Linked DNA regions of Homo sapiens: region 1 is linked to region 2. The links are contacts of gene promoters, found by promoter capture Hi-C in blood cells and fetal thymus (Javierre and others, 2016). All regions are on one chromosome and are shown on one strand. Each heading gives the region's core, a stretch centred on a gene start or on the middle of the fragment in contact. The rest is flanking DNA. Distances are from core to core; before and after follow the strand shown. Region 1 overlaps TDRD10 (tudor domain containing 10). Region 2 holds the start of AQP10 (aquaporin 10).

The links. The method cuts DNA at HindIII sites, captures the fragments that hold promoters and counts their contacts. A CHiCAGO score of 5 or more calls a contact.
Region 1: a fragment that was not itself captured here is called in contact with the fragment with the promoter of AQP10 in region 2 in 2 of 17 cell types (M1 macrophages and endothelial precursors); the score reaches 5.5 in M1 macrophages.

What each region holds. Positions count from the first base shown.
Region 1 is chr1:154,532,633-154,535,802 of GRCh38, reverse strand. All of the region lies in intron 6 of TDRD10 (tudor domain containing 10), which reads right to left. Among named protein-coding and RNA genes, the nearest start is that of UBE2Q1-AS1, 19 kb to the left of the region's middle. The HindIII fragment of the contact is 1,517 bases long and covers 998-2,514 here.
Region 2 is chr1:154,319,761-154,323,141 of GRCh38, reverse strand. AQP10 (aquaporin 10) reads right to left here and starts at 2,049. Exons shown (of 6, transcript NM_080429.3): 1 at 1,882-2,049; 2 at 1,083-1,209; 3 at 23-160. The coding sequence starts at 1,986. RefSeq lists a silencer at 2,079-2,270. The HindIII fragment of the contact is 12,155 bases long and covers 1-3,381 here.

The sequences.
Region 1 (3,170 bases), core at 507-3,006, 210 kb before region 2:
TGGCTTACTGATTCATTTTTGTTGGAACACACTCCTTCATAGCTTTCTGAGAACAGGTACATGGGGCACACATTTTTTGAGACCCTATCTTTCTGAGCAAGTCTTTTTCAACCTTTTTTTAAAAGTGACAGTGTCTTACTTTGTTACCCAGGCTGGAGTGCTGGCACAATCATAGCTCACTGCAACCTCAAACTCCTTCAGGTCAAGTGATCCTCCCATCTCAGCCTCACCAGTAGCTGGGACTACATGTGTGTGCCACCACACCCGGCACATTTTTTGTCGACAGGGTTGCCCAGGATGTTCTCAAACTCCTGGCCTGAAGCAATCCTCCCACCTCAGCTTCCCAAATCCCAAATTCCAAAGCACTGGGATTACAGGTACACACCACTGCAGATGGCTTACCCTTATATTCTCTCTCTCTTTTTTTTTTTTTCTTGAGATGGAGTCTCACTCTGATGCCCAGGCTGGAGTGCAGTGGCATGATCTCAGCTCACTGCAACCTCTGCCTCCCAGGTTCCAGGGATTCTCCTGCCTCAGCCTCCCGAGTAGCTGGAATTACAGGTGTGCACCACCACGCTTGGCTAATTTTTGTATTTTTAATAGAGATGGAGTTTCACCATGTTAGCCAGGCTGGTCTCAAACTCCTGACTTCAAGTGATCCGCCCACCTCGGCCTCCCAAAGTGCTACCCTTATTCTTGACTGACTTGTTTGGGCTTGGATATTATTTTCCTGAAGAATTCAATCACACCACCTGATTCCATATCCTTCAATGTGGATTCTCTTCCTAAAGCTTTATCCCTAGTATTCTAAAATACTTCTGTAAAGTGCCTTCATGTAGGTTTTTATTTTCCCATTCATTATCCTGGGCACTCATTGGCTGCTTTGTATCTGAAAACTCACATCCTTCACCCATGGGAAATTATCTTATATCATTTGATAATCTCTCCCCCACGCTGACCTGAACACTGCCTGGATGCGTGTTGTGCCACGTAAGCTTATCTTCTAATTTTACCTTTTCTTTTCTTTAAAACAATTTCACTACAAAATATTTCAATCAACAAATCCTCTCCCCAAAAAGCAATAACAAATCTTGACAAATTGTCAAAAACAATCACTTCAGGACTCTGGAAATTGACTGAAGCATACAAGAAATTGAAAACATCTATTAAAAAGAAAACAATAACAACAACGACTGACCTTTGTACGAAAACAGTGAGCATCTGGGGCTTCCCCACTCCCCACTCCTTCAGCGGATAGTTCTACCAGGATGGGCAAAGCCATGGAAACCAGGAGCATCAAAGGTGGCTGACTTGATCGGAGCAGGCTATGGAAAACCACCAGGTGTTGTCAGAAACTGCCACCTCGTGGTAAGCAACGGGAAAGTTGCAGCCTGGCTTTTATGCATCTTCACCTACAAAAGGTGCCTATTCCTAGCTCTTGCCCATTTTTCTATTAGGTTGTTTCTTTCTTGCATTGATTTCCAGGCATTTTCATCCTGTTTATTTTTGTTTTTTAAAAAATAGCCTAGATCTTAACCCAGGAACTGGCAAACTTTTTCTGCAAAGGGCCAGATAGTAAATATTTTAGATTTTGGGGGCCTTACTGTCTGTCATGAGTCCACTCTGCTGCTGTAGTGAGGAAGCAGCCACAGGCAATCTGTAAACAAATGGCTGAGGCTGCATGCCAGGAATGTTTCATGGACACAAACTGAATTTCATACAATTTTCATGTGTCATGAAATATTCTTCATTTTTTTTCCCATTTAAAAATACGGCTGGGGGGTCTCACGCCTATAATCCCAGCAGTTTGGGAAGTGGAGACACGAGGATTGCTTGCCAGGAGTTCAAGACCAGCTTGGGCAACATAGTGGGACCCCATCTCTACAAACAATAGAAAATTAAAAAAAAATATATATATATATATATATGGCTGGGCACAGTGGCTGCCCTGCAATCCCAGCACTTTGGGAGGCTAAAGCAGGAGGATTGCTTGAGGCCAAATCAGCTGGGCATGGTGGTACACGCCTGTAGTCCCAGCTACTCACGAGGCTGAGGCAGGACTGCTTGAGCCCAGGAGTTCGAGGCTGCAGTAAGTTCAGATCACACCACTGCACTCCAGTCTGGGCAACAGAGCAAGACCCTGCTCTAAAAATATAAATAAATAAAAACCATTCTTAGAACCTCCACTCTGAGAAGATGAAATATACATACTTCATCTTAGTTTTGTTAAACACAACTAAGAGCCCAGGACATTACATGTAAAACAAACATAAGAAGACTCTGAAAGATGGAGAGAAGGGAACAGGCTGACCAGAGACCTTGGAACCCAGGGTACAACGTGGTGATGACTTCTCTGGGTTTTCCTTTTGCTTTATATATTCCAAACTTAGAATTGAAGAGGCCAGCAACCCAGAAACACCAGTAGGTCCAGAAAAAAAAAAAAAAAAAACCCAACAAAAGCCTGCTCTTTCTAGCCAAAGCACCAGAAGAGACAGGCTAGGAAGACAGAAAGCTTGTAGATAATAACTCCTTTACTCCAGCTAAATGCCACCAACAAGGAGATCCCACCTCCACGCATGCCAACAAAGACAGCATGCAGGGCCCAGACTTCTGCCCTCATGGGGCTGGGATGAGTCGCCCAATACCCCCACCCTGATGGTGTCACAAAGGGCCAAGCAGGCAGCCAGGAATTTCATCCCCTACCCAATAAAGAAACCGGTCTCTCCCTACCACCACCCTGCCTGGGTGTCAATAGAAACCACTTGGGAATCCTGGACTTCCATACCCACCTCACAGAGAGAAAGCCCCCCTCTCTCTCCCTACTGGGGGGGGTGTCAGAAGTGTAGTGGAGAGTCAAGACTTTCCTCAGCGGTAATGAAGCCATCCACGCCAAGATGTCAGTGGAGACCACAAACTAGAACTGGCAGTAACAAGGGGCTCGCTGCCGCCTTAGAGGCTGAGTAGGGAGCCTGACTTCCATCCTCACCTGGCAGCAGCGAGGCAGTACCGTGTTCCCCTGTGGGAGCAGCATCAGAGGAAGCCAGTTAAAACACAAGGTGTATACAAAATCTAGTCTAGCAACGTAACAAGAAAATGTCCAAGTTTCCAGTGAAACTCACTCATCATACCAAGAACCAGGAAAATTTCACATGGAATGAAAAAAATGAGAG
Region 2 (3,381 bases), core at 800-3,299:
CTCCCTCTGTTCCCTCTGTCACCATGGTAGAGAACATAGGTGGCTCCCGAAGCACAGAAAGCAGACAGCAACTGCACCAAGATGTAAATGGGGAGCTTGACCCAGGGGAGGCGTCCAACGATGCACATGGCCAGGGAGAAGGCTGGATTCAGGTGGGCCCCTTCAAGTATCAAGGAAAGAAAAAGAGCATCTATTAAGTGTCACTGCCAGGCATTGTCACCAGACAACACTACTGCTCCTTCCTATAGCTCTTAAGGCAGATAGTGTAATTCTCATCACACAGCTTAGGAAATTGAGGCTCCAGATGTTACAGATGTTAAGTGACTTAGCAAAGTCACACTGTGGGCCAGGCACAGTGGCTCACGCCTGTAATCCCAGCACTTTGGGAGGCCGAGGCAGTGGATCACTTGAGGTCAGGAATTCCAGACCAGCCTGGCCAACATGGTGAAACCCCGTTTCCACTAAAAACACAAATATTAGCCAGGCGTGGTAGCAGGTGCCTGTAAAATCAGCTATTCGGGATGCTGAGGCAGGAGAATCGCGTGAACCCAGGGGCAGAGGTTGCAGTGAACAGACATCACACCACTGCTCTCCAGCCTGGGCAACAGAGTGAAACTCCATCTCAAAAAAAAAGAAAAAAAAAAAAAAAAAAGAAGAAGACACTGTGAATCCAAAGTTGGAACCTAGGTCTGTCTGCTTTTTCCACAGCAACACACTATGTCTCAAGGCTCCACCCAAGCACACCGATGCAGTGTGTATCTGGGGTACAAACAGGAGAGGTCCTGAGTGGAGATGAGCCCCCAGAGGACTTCAGGTGGGGGATACAAGAGGATAGCAGCTGCCCTTCGTGCCCTGCCATTGATTTCTGTCTAGGTGAGCCAAGCATTAGTGTGAGGAAGCAGGATGGAGAGATACAGAAAGAGGAGGGGCTGGTGGGGCCAAAGGCTTATTTCAGTCTGGGACACTGTTCAAGGGGATAATGTCCACGAGTCACAGAAGGATTTGCGTTTCCACCATCACCAGACAGACAAACTGGCATGCACATCCCACGTGCTCTGATGACCAGACCCCACCCTCCTCACCTGAGACGTTACCACCCACGTAGATGGCTATCGTAACGGCCAGAGAGCCAGCCAGAAACATGGTGAAGAAGTTGCCTTTGGTTTCTCCACTGGTGACAGCCTGGGCCACAGCTCCTTGGGTGAGGAGCTGCTGAGAAGAGGAGAGATGAGGAACAGGGAGCCCAGGAGACCAACAGGGAGAAAGGTTGGGAAGGCCAGGGGAGCAGCCAAGGAGATGAATGAGCACAGAAGACAAGCAAGGGAAGGAGAAAAGCAGAAGGAGGGAAGGGAAAAGAAATGGGGAAAGTGGAGGAAGAAGAAAGGGAAAGAATGTGGGAAAAAAGAAAAGAATTTACCCAACTCATAGGCATTTGAGGGTACAAACCCATGGCAGGGCTCAGCTTTAAAAAGTCTTATCTAAGATTCTTTCTATGGAAGAGTTCCATCAAAGCCAATTTTAAAAGCCTATGTGAAAAATAATTATTCTTGCTGCACTTTATACAATCATCAGGCCAAGTATAATAAAGCACATTGGTCTTACCATGAAAATGGTCTTTCATAAAAATGGGAAACTGAAGAGAGAAAAATTATGTTTCAAGAACTATGATACACTTGTTATTAAAGAAAGAATAAAAATGACAAGAATAAAAATGATGAAGTAGGAGAGGAAAGGAGATTAGGAGAGACGAGAGGATAAAAACGAAAAGTGATAGGGAGTTGAGAGGAAGGGGGACACCAAGAGAAAGAGATAAGGACAACAGAAGGAGCCAGGAACTTTTGCCCAACCCCCTTCTTTCCTTCCCGCAGTGATCCTACCTACCATGAGTACAAACACACCCAGAAACTCTGCCAGGCACTGCCGGGCCAGGAGGCTGCGTATCCGGAGGTGGCCCATGATTTCAGCCGGGGCCTGAGTGAAGACCATGGTGGAAACACCCTATTGCTATTCACTGCTCCCTCTGTCTGCATAGGCACACTGTCACTGCACAGCTACTGCCTGCCTCCAGCAAAGATAAGGAACAGACTTTAAAACCATTAGCTCAGTTCCTGAACAGCAGCTACGTGTCTGTGCACGTGTGTAGGCTAGGAAACAGAGAGATAACAAGAGAATGTCTGGGAGCAGGCTATGAACACAGAGCCTGGAGTTTACCCAACCTCTGTCTCTTTTACCCTTCATTCCCAGTCATCACAGGACTAGCCTCCCCCATCCTGACAAATAGAAGGAAGTACCCCGCTTCATAGACATTAGATCTCTTGGTCCTGAAGTCAGCTCTGCAAAGTAGTACTATTGCTTCCATTCTACAGATGAGGCTAGTGGGCCTTAGAACTCCCCAAGATCAAACTTTTTTTTTTTTTTTTTCTGAGAGAGAGTCTTGCTCTGTCCCCCAGGCTGGAGTGCAGTGGCACCATCTCAGCTTACTGCAACCTCCACCTCCCAGGTTCAAGCAATTCTCCTGCCTCAGCCTCCCAAGTAGATGGGACTACAGGTCCATCACACCTGGCTAATTTTGATATTTTTTAGTAAAGACTTGGTTTCTCGGGAGGCCGAGGCAGGCAGATCACGAGGTCAGGAGATCAAGACTATCCTGGCCAACATGGTGAAACTCCATCTCTACTAAAATACAAAAAAATTAGCGTGGTGGTGCACGCCTGTAGTCCCAGCTACTCGGGAGGCTGAGGCAGGGGAATCACTTGAACCAGGGAGGCGGAGGTTGCAGTGAGCCGAGATTGTGCCACTGCACTCCAGCCTGGCAACAGAGCGAGACTTTGTCTCAAAAAAAAAAAAAAAAAAAAAGACGGGGTTTCACCATGTTGGCCAGGCTGGTCTCAAACTCCTGACCTCTAGTGATTCACCTTCCTTGGCCTCCCAAAGTGCTGGGATTACAAGCGTGAGCCACCGTGCCCGGCCCAAGATCACACAATTATTTCATGGCTGAGTGAATTCAAATCCAGATTTTCTGACTCTCCAGCTGGTAACCCACAAAGCCTCTCATTTAGAACCTGAAGCCTTACCCCAAACCATTTGGATGCTTGAAGAACTCAATAGGCATCTGGAAAGACTGGGCTAAAGACCACAGACTGTGGGAATGAAACTCACATATTGAGTGCTTGTACTTCCCTTATGCCGAGTGTCACATAGGTTAGAGAATACTCCATCTTTGTGTCCCCTGACATGGCTTGACATGAGGCCTTCACACTCATGCTGAGCTCCACCTGGCCTTCTCTGGGTGCATGCCACTCTTGCTCTGCATGAAGTAACCGCATCCTACTTCTTCATATCTCAAGGCTCCAATTAAATGCATTCAAAGAATCTACGTCT